Regions from separate parts of the Homo sapiens genome. Here all the other regions are linked to region 3. The links are contacts of gene promoters, found by promoter capture Hi-C in human tissues and cell types (Jung and others, 2019). All regions are on one chromosome and are shown on one strand. Each heading gives the region's core, a stretch centred on a gene start or on the middle of the fragment in contact. The rest is flanking DNA. Distances are from core to core; before and after follow the strand shown.

Evidence for each region. Contacts are between HindIII fragments. The study calls those that stand out against the background at their distance.
Region 1: a fragment that was not itself captured here is called in contact with the fragment with the promoter of ZNF532 in region 3 in 1 of the 25 tissues and cell types used here (hippocampus).
Region 2: a contact is called between a fragment that was not itself captured here and the fragment with the promoter of ZNF532 in region 3, in 2 of the 25 tissues and cell types used here (liver and lymphoblastoid cells).
Region 4: a fragment that was not itself captured here is called in contact with the fragment with the promoter of ZNF532 in region 3 in 1 of the 25 tissues and cell types used here (dorsolateral prefrontal cortex).

The regions. Positions count from the first base shown.
Region 1 is chr18:59,075,972-59,079,415 of GRCh38, reverse strand. No RefSeq gene overlaps it. Among named protein-coding and RNA genes, the nearest start is that of SEC11C, 62 kb to the left of the region's middle. The HindIII fragment of the contact is 3,871 bases long and covers 1-3,383 here.
Region 2 is chr18:59,033,822-59,037,442 of GRCh38, reverse strand. It overlaps the pseudogene OACYLP. Among named protein-coding and RNA genes, the nearest start is that of SEC11C, 100 kb to the left of the region's middle. The HindIII fragment of the contact is 3,889 bases long and covers 364-3,621 here.
Region 3 is chr18:58,862,341-58,866,242 of GRCh38, reverse strand. ZNF532 (zinc finger protein 532) reads right to left here and starts at 1,366. Exons shown (of 10, transcript NM_001375912.1): 1 at 858-1,366; 2 at 664-773. RefSeq lists an enhancer at 3,369-3,902. The HindIII fragment of the contact is 28,079 bases long and covers 1-3,902 here.
Region 4 is chr18:59,055,719-59,059,496 of GRCh38, reverse strand. It overlaps the pseudogene OACYLP. Among named protein-coding and RNA genes, the nearest start is that of SEC11C, 82 kb to the left of the region's middle. The HindIII fragment of the contact is 4,187 bases long and covers 1-3,578 here.

The DNA.
Region 1 (3,444 bases), core at 199-2,698, 210 kb before region 3:
CCACCTTGCTGATAATCCTGCTGAGCAAGCACAGGGTGGCTGGATAAAGAGACAGAAGCAAGGCAGGCAGCAACCTTTTGCTGCTTTTTTTGCCCTGGAGCAGGCACCTTCCATGGAAGTATCTGACCTTAGCAGCATCCTCATCGTCATCGCTCCCTTCTCCACATCCTGCTCCACACAATGGTGCTGTTTTCGTATCCTCTACCTCTAGGAGCATATTTTGGGACATCCAGGCCCTTAATGTCAATATCAGTGTTTCTTGAAGTGTAGGCATCAGAATCGCTTACTTGTTTTTGTTAGTATGTAGGAGTCAGGAAATGTATTTTTATCAACATCCCCAAGTAATCTTTGTCTTCACTAAATTTTGTGACAATCTGATCTTGAACAAAAAGAAAGTAGTTCTCTTTTTTATTCTCTGTCTCTCTCAACTATCCACAGCCTGCCCTCTTAGTTCAGTTTCCTGGGCTAAGGACTTCCTTTTTCCTAGTGTCTGGCCCCAGGAACAATCTCTTTTTAGTGGCCGTAGCCCCCATATCTGCAAGATGTAGCCTTAAACCTCATAAAACTCTACAGAAGAACCATATGCCAGTTCAGTGTAGCCTCGGCATTCATGTAAGAAATCTTCCCTTCCAAGAATGGAGTGGGTTGGGTCTTCCTTCTTTGCCCTGCCAGAAGTCATCATGATGAAGAAGGCTGACAGCTGGAGAACAGAAAGCTGAAGATCATGGGTTTATTGGTCCACTCCTCGCTGAGGAGAGGTTGAGATTGAAAAATCCTAAAAGGGAAGCAACTCCCAGACTGCCAGCTGGGAAGGCACAGTCTGGGGCCAGAGAAGCTCCCCACTGCAGATCCATTTCCAGCGTGGAGAAAGCGTCCTCCTGCTCCCTCCAGTTTCAGCCTGTCCTGTGGTTTTCTGCAGCCTTTCAGGCAAACACAGACAATGGCATTCCCATCTTCCCTGATCCCTCCATTCCCACCATGCCACCTCCCCTCAGCAGATTCCTGCTGATGTTCACCTAAGCCTCCACCCCCTCAAACCCTTTACCCTCATCACCATAGTCATCACAACCTGCTTACTTTATTCATACCAAGTAGCAACTGAAAAGTCAAATTTCTGCGGTTGGGAATGCTTAGCTTCAGCAACAAAGTGTCTATATGTCAGACCACAATGGAACGCAGTAGTTTGAACTTTTAAAATGTAATTAACAGCTAGACAGTGCTTCTCCAAACTCCCAATCCAGTAAGCACTGAAGTGTAGAGTATCTAAAACCTTAACAGACTTCCCCTGTTTCTCGCAGGGGTTTTATAAAAGGATATCAAGGAGAATGACTGCCCTTCTAGCCCAGAGATTGTAGTAGGGGATTTGTTTAGAGTTAAAGAAAATATCTCATGGGACTTGGGTTCTGTTGGGTTCTGGACACTGATTTGTTGTGTCCAACATGACCAGATTTGCTGATTTGTTTGAAGCCCATTGGTCTCAGGTTCATCTTCTGTAAAATAAGATGTTTCCCAAGAAAGGGTCTCTACATGTCTCAGAAGCTTTTATGAGGCTGTGAGCCTCATCTGATACCAGAGGAAGATATCACCAGCTCACTGTTCACAAGTCCATCCCATTCCCAGCGTGGATCTGAAAACCACAGAGTGCCAGTCTCTGTAAGTGTCCTCTATTGTCTCTGGTCCAGATCCATGAAGATCCTGAACATGTTTGCACAACTGGAGGGAACAAGGGGGCCTCCCGGGGAGATACAGGGAGGCTGTGTGACAATGGGGAAAAAGCAGCACATTTGGAGGAGGCCTCGGTCCCCCAGGTCTGGTGGTAAGACCCTCTTTTAAGCTTCCTTAGTCCTCATCTTCCTTCAAGCATTGAGGAAACATAAAATACCTCACAGAATCCTCAAGGAGTGCAAATGTCCTAAGTCTTTCTCACCTTCCAAGCCCACATCACACTCCAGCTTCCAGCGATCTCTCTCCTGCTTTTCACAGTCAAACTTCTGGAAAGAATTGCTCATAAACCCCCTGCCTGGTTAACCCATCAGGACATGGTGGCTGAGCATATGGGCTCTGGATTCGAACTGCTTGGATTCATATCCTGGTGCCCCCACCTGGCCCCCACCATTGGCCTTGCACCAATGACATAGCTCTGTGCCTCAGTTTCTCCATGTGTAGATGAGGATAATAGTGTTTATGTGCATGCTGTATTAGGATTAAATGCCTTGGTTTCTGTAAAGTGCTTAGGAAGGTACCTGGCATATAATGAGCCCTCAATAAATACTAGGTATCACTGTCTTACAAATCTCAATTTAGGGCTAGCTTCTCAGAAATTCCACTTCAGGCCTCCTAGTTAGGGTCAGGCTTTCACAGTTCTCACTTAAGTTGAAATTAGGTATTTTTGGTGTGATTATCATGACCCTCATGCAGGGCACTCACTATAAGGTCAAAGGGAGCAGAAATTGCACCTGTGTTTCTCTACATAGTGTTCCTACTGCTTAGCTCAGTAACTGGCACACAGCAGGAACAAATACATATTTCTTGAACATACAAAGGAATGAGTGAGCACTGGTACTGGCCTGAGTCCGTTAATGAATGGAGGCTGCTGTCAGAGAGCAAGTGCCCCAAGCTCCTGGACGAACCCATAATGGAAGAGATCTTTGGCCAAAGGGTACCTGGCCGCTTGAAAGAATGACTATGGCTCCCAAAGGGGGCCTATTAGGGAAGCCCTTTGGGCGTAAGAAAGCTGACTTTGGGCCAAAGACTGTGCATGTCTTGGAGAAGTTGCTATTTGCACGTGAATGTCATCAACTGAGACCGTGATGTAGAACGAATCCTGTCACTCCTTGAGTCCTGTGGCTCATTGGAATCCTTTTGGAAGTTTTGGAAAAAAAAAAAAAAAAAAAAAAAAAAGCACAGATTCCTAAGCCCCACTCCAATCTGGAAATCTCCAGGAGTAGATCCTGGGAACCTAGATTTTTAAAAAGCTCTTTGGGTGATTCCGTTGCCACCAGCCTGTACAGACCAGCAGGCTCTAATCTGGCCAAATTTTATCTTTTTACAAAGGAGGAAACAGAAACACACTTTTACCCTGCATCAGTAAAGAGGGCATGAAATTTTTAATAAACACGGAAATTAGCTGATCATTTGTTAGGGACTAGAAAATATGGTGTGTGCCCTTGGAAACAGCACATAATACAAATCATCCTTGGTAGGGGTCATTAGCATGGAAATGAGATCTGATTAAAAAGCACTGACAGCACTTCCTCCTCCTCCTATTGTGATTAGAGCAAAAATTAGACTGTTTGGCACACTCAGTCAAGTTTCCTCCGATAGACTCGTCTCTCTTGGCCAGGGTATGTTTGCCAAGTTTAACACAGGATGGCCCAGTGTTACTTATCTAAGTGCTGACAGCCCTTCACACCTGAGTGTTCCTGGCTGGTGTGGACTCAGTGA
Region 2 (3,621 bases), core at 1,059-3,558, 170 kb before region 3:
AATAGTTCATATAAATAAACATAACTTTATGAAACATCATGCCATTTTCTGAATTTTTCCCATTTCACTATAGTGAGAAGTCGGAACTTCATCAAGCACCTGTACCACTCTGTGGGCCAGAATTTGAGAAGCACTGAAATAAACAATTTTGATGAATACAATCAATGTTTAAAAGGCCTGTGTTATAGAGCCATCCTAACTCATGTAATAAACGGAAGATACAGTGGAGAGTCTCCTGTGACAACAGTACTGTCTAGAAATGGACAAAGGCTCAGATGAATAAATGTGGGTCATTCCGCTTTTCTCATTAGAGTGAGAATGGTAACACATATGCATACACATATCCCAAAACAAACACCACAAGCCCTACAGCACTGAAAACGTAGTTCAACCTTATTACCTGATCAGGAAAAATGTATCAACTCCAAGATAGAAGGGACCACTCCAAGAGTAAACACACAGTGGGTTTCTAAGCACTCTGCTGTTCCATTCAAGCACATTATCTGTAACAAACATTAAAAAGCAGTGTCTTTTTGTTTCATAGAAGAAAATCATGTGATTTCTCTTTTCAGAAAAAGCAAGAGGAACACCTTCGACTTTCAGTTGTGCTGGGCAGGCTTTAAGAATCACTATAGGCCAGGCACAGTGGCTCACGCCTGTAATCCCAGCACTTTGGGAGGCCAAGGCAGGCAGATCATGAGGTCAGGAGTTCAAGACCAACCTGGCCAACATAGTGAATCCCCGTCTCTACTAAAAACACAAAAAATTAGCCAGCCATGGTGGTGGGCACCCATAATCCCAGCTACTTGGGAGGCTGAGGCAGGAGAATCACTTGAACGCAGGAGGTGGAGGTTGCAGTGAGCCGAGATCATGCCATTGTACTCCAGCCTGGGGGTGACAGAGTGAGATTCTGTCTCAAGAAAAAAAAAAAAAAAAAAGAAGAAGAATCAATGTAATTCATGTCGAAGGAGAAGTTAGACTGGGAATAAAAGGCAGTGACTGAGGTCCCTACTGGTCGTTCAGGAGCTTTGAGCTCCTTTGTGCACTCACGGTGGCCACAGCCCCCCTGGACTGTAGCACCACCTATTCATGGGCTGGTGCAGACCACCCGGGAGGCTTCTTCAATCTGCCCTGGGCTGTGTTTACTCCCTATTTAGAGAGTACCACTATTATTGATAGGAGCGCTTCAGGAGGGTAGCAGCAGGGAGAAGGTGGAGAAACACTGATTTGATATTAGTGGACCATGTTTATGCTTGTCTGCTTTTCAAGGAAAAATAAATGTTAGGTCCTGGCTTCACTAACCATGATGAGAGAGAATTCGGCTCTTTGGATAACGAAAATACAATACCCAGGTATCACTATATACCTGGCAGCCAGGTACCTGATTTATACCTAGAGGGAGTGAAAGGAGCCACTAGACACTGGCCTGGAAAGCTTACTGATGGGAGGTTACACACAGTGTGTCTAAAACAGAAGGAAGTCTGCTCGTGGGAAGGCTGCCAGTCTCCCATCCTTTGGCCAACGTGATCCCGCCATACCAAAGAATGTCTCTTCCCTGACTGCTCCTAGAGTAAAGGCTCATCAACTCTCCGCACCCAAAGACAGCCATGCAGTCATCTGACTGGTGTGTCCCGAGATGATCCAAAGAAGACTCAAGACACGAATGCCATTCAGTGCAGAGCAGGTGCCACCTGGTGCCTTTGTAGTCCAGATGGCTGGCACATTCTTCTGCCAAGAAAAGCACTCCAGAGCATGAGCCACGGCTCCTAGAAACCCTGGGCAAGAGCAAAGATGTTACTGTCCACCTTGACTGCCAGGGTATCCACACACCACCCCGCAACAAGAACCAAAGCACAATCCACAGATCTTGGCAGTTACTCGGAGGCTCTCTTGCTCTGACCCTGGGCTTCTCAGCTCAGCCTCCGTGGTTCCATCTTCATCTATCTGTGGACTTTCATACTTGGTATCCCTCCCTTTTGAATCTTGACTTTCCCTAACAGACTTGACCTGAGTTTGGTGCCCCACATGCTTTGCACAGAATACGCTGCCCAAGCTCAGGCCCCAGAGATGCCAACCCCTGACCCCAGTCCTGCTTGACGAAGAGTTGAGGGAAGGAGAACGCAGACATCAGTAAGAATCGATGTGATACACAAAGCAAGACTTTCACTTGAAAGAACACCCCTGCAATCCTGAGGACTAGTTACTTATGAATAATGAGCCAGGTGCGGTGGCTCACGTCTGTAATCCCAGCACTTTGGGAGGCCGAGGCAGGTGGATCACTTGAGGTCAGGAGTTTGAGACCAGCCTGACCAACATGAAACCCCATCTCTACTAAAAATACAGTTAGCCGGGCATGGTGGTGCATGCCTGTAGTCCCAGCTACTCCGGAAGCTGAGGCAGGAGAATCACTTGAACCCAGGAGGTGGAGGTTGCAGTGAGCTGAGACTGCACCACTGCATTCTAGCCTGGGTGACAGAGTGAGACTCCGTCTCAAAAATAATAATAATAATAATAATAATAATAATAATAATAATGAATAACAACCCTAACGTAGGTCAAAGTATAGGCATGAAAACAGAAGGACCAGTGGCACAGGAGCTTAGGGCACAGGCCATATAGCCAGATGCTCCTGGCTCTGATTCTGTCATTTATCAGCTCTGTGACCCCCGGCAAGTGAATTAACCTCTCTGTGTCTAAGTTTCCACATCTGCAAAATAATCAAAGTAGATTTTAAAGGATTATCATGAAGAACAAATGAGATAATGCTTATAAATCACATTAAATAGAGGCAACCTAGTATGTACTCGTGAGAACACAGCTACTACTACCACTGTTTTAAGCCCTATCACTTTAAGAATGGTTAATACCATCTTCTTAATTCATTCCCTTTCTTAAAGAATTTAATGTTTACCTATCTGAGAACGAAGCAAGTGTCTGGAATTGCAAAACAGGGGCCTCCAAGCTCAAGCCGGCTCTGAGAGACTCACATTTCCTCCTGGACAGAGCCCCGTGCCTTCAACATTGTGGGCACAAAGAAGTCTTTGCAGAATTAAAACTTATTCACAAATGAGGTCTGGCTCATAACCAAACTCTGGAAATCTAAGGCAATTTCTTAAATTGAAGAATTTAACTACCTAACATTTTGAAGTTCCAGCCGTGAATACAAGTTTTTCCATTTAAGTCACTTTGTGATTGCGTCTCTGTCTGAAGTCACCACACCCACCCTTTTCATTCACAGGGGTTTTCACTCAGGAATTGGCCACAACTACAGCACAACCAGCAGCCTCCTAGAGCTGATTCACCTGCTCCTCCTCAGTTTCCCGAGCAGTGGAGAGATACAGGACCCGGGCTCTGCCAGGTTTGGCCAACTTCTTTAGCCTCCCTGAGCCTCAGTTTCCTCGCTTTTAGAATGGGTATAATTTTTGGTAGGGTTGTAATGGGGATTCTAGAACATCAAATATCTGGTTTGATGCCTCATGTGGCAAGCTAGTGCTCAATATGTTTTGTTACTATGTTTTTTCCATCTAAATTCTGCTAGTGAATGAACTTACCCATCAGTGGTTTATAAAGGTTTCTGAAAATAACTGGTCTAGAGGGAGGACAACCTCCCTGAGGCTCATT
Region 3 (3,902 bases), core at 117-2,616:
TCCAGTACAGCTTTGAGTTAACAGGCATCTTTTCACAGATGAAGCCAGACTACCCGGCTTCCCCCTGGTATTGCATTAGTATTCCACATTAAACATATGCCACAAAGAATCCAATGGCGAACTCACCGTCAACAGCCCCCAAAATCAATAAAAGACATTCCACCACTTGAGTCGGAGTGAAAAACCTTTCAGGTTAACACAAGAGAGCAAGGTAAAAGAAAGGTGATGAATGAACAAAAGGCAAATCTACCTTCAGACTCCTCAAATCCTAAAAAGGTGGCTAGGCTGCCTCGATTTGGTGAAGCCCTTCCTTTTCTTATAATCATCGGGAAAATGCCACATGTGTACTGCTTTCGTCTTATGCAAAACAGCACATTCTCCACAAGGCCCTGACGCCTACCATTCTCCACACTCGCTTCCTTCCAGGCCTGACTCTCCCAATTGCCCAGACACATGCGATTTAATGAAGGCATTCAGATTTCGCCTTGATCGCAATACCATCATAAAGTCACTCTAATCCCATTAAACTGGGATAACATTAAGAGCATTTCTTCTCCACTCTGAACCCAATTTTATCTCCTGGGTAGCAATCCACGGTCCGTCTGTGTCTAAATGGATCTGCAAATAAATATTTAAATTCATGCTCAAAACAGCGTATCTCACCTTGTGAACCTTGACCTTTTGGAAAGACTTTAGACCAATGTTCAGTTACTGTCACACGGCTGCATTCTCAGCAAATAGGAAAGGGTTAAAAGCAGCCCCAGTCAACAGGCCTACAAGGAAAAAAAAGACAGCATGTATGGCTAACAGCATCACTGGAATGCATTTATGTTCATTTCCTAGAACGATATTGTTACCTTTTGGCCTTCATAATAGTCAGAAGCATCCCCAACACCCTTTAGTAGCTTCTAAAAGAAAAAGCACAAGACAGAACATACCCTGCAAGAGAAAAAAAGCATGCAAAGTAGCATTCTCCAGCAACAAACAAACTACCATTACAAACCCCTCAGTTCATTTTGGTTTTGTTTTGTTATAAACACCGAGAAAGAGAGAGAGAGACTGCATCAACCAAGTGTCCCCACCCTAGCAAGGCACATTTTTTTCTCTAATAAGGGTCATAAATCTCAGCTCCTTGTCCATCCCTTAAGCAAAAGAAAAAGGCAGGAAAAGCCCAAGTAATCTCAGACCCTGCAAACCTGCACCTTTTTTTCCATCTTCTCTACCCAGAATCTTTTAGGGCTCCATTAGTCACGTACCAGTGCTGTGTGGTGTCTAAGTGTGCATTCACATACTGTGTAGGGATGGTACCTTCCTGCAAGCTCCTCTGCTTTTGGCTGCCATGAAGGGAGGAAGCTGCTATCCTACTGTAGTAGCTCAGTGACTGCATTGTGTTCAGGAGCTGATCTGCCTCAAACCAGTTTCAGCCGGTTCTGGTCACCCTACATAAAAAAGCTATGGCAACCCTCGCTGAGTTGCCAACAAGTCCCTGAAAATCATCAGCACAGGGGGGATCTCGCTGGGGTTTGCTCTTCCCTCTTAGGTCTTCCTGAGGAGGAGAAGGTCATCGTGTGTCCCCCCACCCCACGAGCACACAGCCTTGGAAATGCTCACCTCGCAAGCACCCCAGAGCCCCTCAGGGCCCATCCCCCCTCCCCTCCACCCCACAGCCCACCGCAGACACTGTTTCCCCCTCCTTCTCCTTCCCCCACTTACCTCCCACAACCTGGCTCAGATCTTTGTGTACGTGTGTGTCAGTGTGTGCTCTCTGTGTTGGTGGCTGACAAAGAGCCCCCAAGAAAGCGAGCTATGTGTGTCTGCTCACACGGGATGCGTCGGCTGCAGAGCCGGCCTGGCCTCCTAGCACAGTGGTGCTGGCTTGTTGACCAGGCTCCTCTCTGCTGTCACCCCCACCCCACCCAGCCCCCTCCTCCCTTCCGTCCCTCTCCTCTCTCTCCCAGCCCTGTCACCACCACCAGCAGCCCCCCAGTCTCCTCCTCCTCCTCCAACCTTCTCTTCTTTCAAGCACCTGGGGGGAGAAGTCCAAATCCCTTCACCTCGGGGGAAGAAAACTGGGGCTGTCTGGGGAGGGGGCGGGGGGCGAAGGCAGGGCCAGTGGGAGAGGGGGCACGGAGGCCTCTGGAAACGCATCTGTGCCCGGCCGGCGCCGGCGGGGGGAGTAGGAGAGCCGCGCTCACGTGGCCCCCGTCTCGTAACCTGCGGGGCCTAGCCCGGGCGGTTCCTCCTCGGCCCCCCAAGCCAGCTGGCGGGGCGCGAAGGCCGGCTGTCCCCAAGGCCAGGGTGGGACAGGCCACTGCGGGCAGGCCCAGGGGCCTGAGCCTCACGCGCTCACCCCGGCCCGCAGGAGTGGGCACGAGGGGCCGCACCCCGCCTCTGCCCGGCGCCCACCCGCGCCCCTGGGTCCGGCTGCCCTGCGCCCCTCGTTCGCCCCGGCCGCCTCCCGCCGCCCCGCACCCCCAGAGGCGCACACCCACCCCCTTCCCGGGGTTGGCCTTCGCGGCGGTCAAGCCCGGGCGTCTGGGCCGCAGCTCGGATGACCTTTGTTCAGCGCGGCGCCGCCGGCGGCTGCTGCTGTGGCTGCTGCTGCTGTCGTCGGAGCGGCGGCGGCGGCGGCTTCCATGTTACGGGCGTGTCATCTGCGTTCCCGCTGCCGGGGTCTGTGTGTGCGTGTGCGGTGGAGCGGCCTCGCCGCCGGGCCGGGCGGCGGCGGCGGCGGCGGCTCGGCCCGGGCGGCGAGCGAACAAAAGGGAGCGCGGGCGAGGGGGAGGGGGCGGCCGGTGGGGGAAGGGAGCTCCGGGACCGGGCGGCGGCAGCGCGAAGCCCCGCGGCCGGCGGGCGCCGACGCCCGGCCGCTGCGGAGCCCCGAGTCCGGCGGCGGCGAGAAGGCGCCCCGCGGACCTGCCAAGTCTCGCCCATACGGGGCCGCTGGCTCGCGGCTTCGCCCCGGGAGTGGAGCGGGGTGGTGGGGCTGGTGAGGGGGCGCAGGGAGGGCTGCTTTTTTCCAACGACATTGCGGGCTCTCACCCAGTCCTTTCCGTGGCCCCAAGCCGCGACTTACTCGAGTGGAAGGAAGCAAGGCCTCGCCAAAGATGGTTGAAAAGACCGTGAGCCTCTACCCAGGATCTTGAAGCCAAGGTGGTGGTTTGTTTTCCTCGTAATGATGGCAAATGAGTAAGAAGAGAGCACGCTATCTTCGGACAAATTAAATCTGAAATTCTCCCTGGAGGTGGAAGAAGGGGCTCTCCTCTGGTTAGTTAGTGGTTTGGAGCCCTTTTCGCCTTCAACTGAGCCACAAAAGGATGGAAGACACCCCCTGGGGTGGGGAGAAAGCCCTGGTGTAAAAGACACACGTTTGCTTTCAGAGAAAAAGCCACTGGGGCCAGATTGAAACATGGCATGTTCAGTTCATGTAGGTTTTTTTTTTTCCTTAATGGGGGAATGATATTGAGTAAACAAGATGTAATAGCTAGGTCTTTAAATTCTAGAAGGGAGATGGTGTACAAATGTAACAAGCACATATTGTACATACAGCAGGTGGTCATAGCCTGCGGAACACAAAAAGATACATATGTAAGCCCGCTAAAGGTCACGAAGGTGTATAATCGTGACCCGTGCAAGGGCGAGAGACGATAGATTTCCATTCCAGATGAGGTATGCTGTTTTCCCAGCCCCGTGTCCTCGTTCCTTTATTGTTCACAGACGTGCACTCCATTGAAAGGTTTTTAAAACCAGACAGAAACCCCCAAGTCAAGCTAATTGTGCTGACACTGGAAATAGGACAAAATGGAAGGAGCTGAAAAAATGTCACCATAACCTGTTAAAAAGGTTCACTCCTGTTTGATAGGAATCTGAAGACACAAAAATAACACTCAAGTAGCAGTGAT
Region 4 (3,778 bases), core at 236-2,735, 190 kb before region 3:
ATCGCCTCTTCACTGAAAAATACAAGGAAATAAGCCAAAATGTTATGTTTGATCTGGACATGGCAAAGGGAATCCAAATCCCTGAGATGTCCATTGGAATAATCAGCAAGCCCAAAGGTACATTTAGGGCACACTTGTTCATTTCCTTAGTCATGGTGCGCAAACAGTGACCTCATGGCCCCACCTCAGCCAAAGTTGGCTTGTTTAGGTTCCAAATTCCCTCAGGCCCCTCCACCCCAGATCCCAAGGAAATATCATGAGTGTATTCATTTTAAATAGCTGTGTCTGGTGGCCAATATGTCAGAATGTTCTAAAAATGTAGCACCCAGATGTGAACCCAAGGGTCCCAAGGACAGAGACTGTCCTGAGAGAGAAGTGATGAGAGGTCCAGGCCAGGCTATTAAAAGGACACCAAAAACTATTCTTTGAAGCTGTGTTTTTCAAGGTTTCATCCCTTGACATCAACAGCTGCGTCAGGCCAGGCATGGTGGCTCACACATGTAATCCCAGCACTTTGGGAAGCCGAGGCAAGAGGATCATTGAGCCCAGGAGTTTGAGACCAATCTGGGCAACATAGAGAGACCCCAACTCTACAAAAAAAAAAAAATTAGCCAGGCCTGGAGGCACATGCCTACAGTCCCAGCTTCTCAGGAGGCTGAAGCAGGAGGTTCGCTTGAGCTCAGGAGGTTGAGGCTGCAGTGAGCGGTGATCATGCCACTGTGCTCCAGCCTGGATGACAGAGTGAGACTCTGTTGCAATAGAATAAAAAACACAGACAAAAAAAAAAAACACCTGCATCACCTGAGAACTTATTAGGAACCCAGACTCATGGGCCCCACCCTGACCTACTGGCAGTGGGCTCAACCATCTGTGTGTTAAGAAGCCCTCCAGGTGACCCTGATACCCCCTCAAGGCTGAGAAGCTTTGCCTAAACAGTGCCATTCACGGGAGGCATCCAGGTTATACCCAAGCCCAGGGAATCATCATCTCTGCACATGGACTCAGGGACTAGAAATTTTAAAACTCTCCTGAGTTTCCCAAAGGCAGATTGAGAACCCCTGCTTTAAATTTATCACCGTTAAAATTATCACCATTCCCCACTGAAGCTAGACGCACTCTCAGCCCCTAGCTGCCCATGCAGGGACCACTGGAGGAAGGGAAGGTGTTTGAGGACTAGACGTATGGTTCTTCAACTGTGGCTGCACATAAGAATTTATTCTGCAAATTAGAATTTGTAAGCACCCTGGGAATGCTTACAAAAGTCCGCTGCCTGGGCCCCATGCCCAGAGATTCTGATTCAATTGTTCGGAGGTGGGTGGGGATGAAAGCATCAGTAGATTTAGAAGCTCCCAAGTGACTCTAATATGTGGCCAGGGTTGAAAACCGCTGGGCTGGACATGAGTGAGCCTCCTCCTCAATCACTTCACCATGCCATGATATGGGAAGGGCATGATAGTCTCCTGGTCAGGAGGCTTGGGATGTTGTCACCAATTCATTCATTTATTCTCATATGCCACCCACTCACAGATTCACATGGAACACTCACATACCAGGAACGGTTCTGGCCATTTTATTTTGGAAGATCGGCAAAGGCTGCTCTGAGAAGGTGACATTTGCACAGACACCTGAAAGATGTGAAGGAGAAAGCCCTGCCAAGATCTTAGATTTTAACAGAAGAGTAATTCAGGCTCAAAAGCAAGTGCTAAGGCCCCGGGTTGGGGAGGGTGGGGAAGGGGGTTCGGGGAGCGTGCTTGGTGCGTTGAGATGAGTTGGTGTGGCTGGTCCAGTGTCAGCAGGTAGGAGGGTGACCAATGAGGCCACTGGAGGAATTCAAGCAGATGACTGACATAATCTGATTTTCATTTGTGTCACTGCATTGAGAGAAGATTAGCAGGTAATCATAACAGTTTTTCCTGTGTAAGTGTCATACATGCCTCATTGGGGAGGGGAAATAGCACTGTGGATTGGCTTCTAAGTTCAAATCACACCTGTGCCACCTACTAGTTGTGTGACCTTGAAGAGGTAGGTTCAGTCTCTCCATCCAACAGAGCCACCAAGCAGCAATTGGCTGCTGGAGGAGAAACACAGTACAGCCACATGGGGGCGCTCCTTCCTCTGGGAAGCGTTTCAATGGGCAACGTTGAGTTCAGAGAGGACCTACCAGTGCAGGTTGAAAGGTTCAGAAGTTTGGAAGCAAGAAGGCAATCAGCTTTCCCATCCAGACCAAAAGTTTCATACCCACTTTTTCCATGAACCAAAGGGCACAGGGTGAACAGCCTGGCATTCAGCAGCCCTCCCCGGGAAGTCCTGGCCAGAAAGGGGCAGGCTGGGGAACCGCATTACCTGGTTTCTGATGGAGCCACGACAGGAAGTTTATATGCCAAGGTGATCAGAGCAGTGGCTGTGAAAGATGCCAAGAACAGCATGGCCCCAAGGAGGATGAGGATCTGTGTACTCCTGCAAAGAAGAGAGGATACGGAGAGGAGTGCCCTTCAGTTTCTTGCCCCACACATGCGCTTCCTATGGCACGAAAGGCTGGAAATCCTGACCATCAGAGGTACTTCCTGCTTTTGAGAGGCCCTGCTTTTGAGAGGCTGATGAGTGGCAGGGAGAGCGGGGCTGGGGCTGGAGGACCTGAGGCAGCCTCGGTCTTGACCATCCATTAGTTGTGCCACACCGGGCAGGGCCTTGAGCTTGAGTTTCCTGGTCTAGACAGGAACAGTAATCGCATCCTCGCCTGCCCACCCTGAGGCTTACTATGCAGCTCAAAAGGAGTCCATGCCTGGGAACGTCCCTTGTCATCTATGAAACCCGATATGGATACAAGTGGTGGTTGATTTGGGAGAGAGGACTGTCAAAGGCAGGGTGGGACACGGGGTGGACCCACTCCAAGCACAGGGGAGAGAGGATCGAGAAGGAGGATGGTATGGTTTGGATCTTTGTCCCTGCCCATATCTCATGTGGAATTGTAATCCCCAGTGTTGAAGTGGGGCCTGATAGGAGGTGACTGGATCGTGGGGATGGATTTCCCCCTTGCTGTTCTTGTGATAGTGAGTGAATTCTCATGAGATCTGGCTGTTTAAAAGTGTGTAGCACCTCCCCGCTTTGCTCTCTTCCTCCTGCTCCCACCATATTAAGATGTGCCTGGTTCCCCATCTGCCCTGATTGTAAGTTTCCTGAGGCCTTCCCAGAAGCAGAAGCCTGCACAGCCTGCAGAACCATGAGTCAATTAAACCTCTTTTCTTTATAAATTACCCAGTCTCAGGTAGTTCTTTATAGCATGTGAAAACGGACTAATGCAGAGGGGGAACCAGGCACGCCTTCAACTGAGGAGCAGAGCCTGAGACAAATGTCCGGGTGCAGGTAGTTCACGTGGGTGTAGGAATGAGGGATAGGGTAGGAGAACAGGGAAGCAGGGAAAACCAATACCAGGATGTGCTATCAAGGTGGCCAATGCTCAGTTCTTCCAGAATGTTCCACAGGGCCATATGAAATGTACCTTAAAACTGTCCTGTGAGATGAAAGACAGAAGGATTTTCCCACTGTCTTCTATCTCAAATGGGTTAAGGATGGTCCCACACAAATTAATTCCTCCACACTTTGGGACCGTGCATGTATAAGACTAGGATGTTTCCTGAAGCACCCAGAGTGAGGCGCTGTCTGGTTGTACCTGCTCCGAAGTGTGAGGGTTGGGATTAAGAGGATCCACAGTGGTGTGGAAGAAATGTCAAACACAAGTGCGAGACCATCCAGGCACAGCCTGACCTGGAAAATGCCT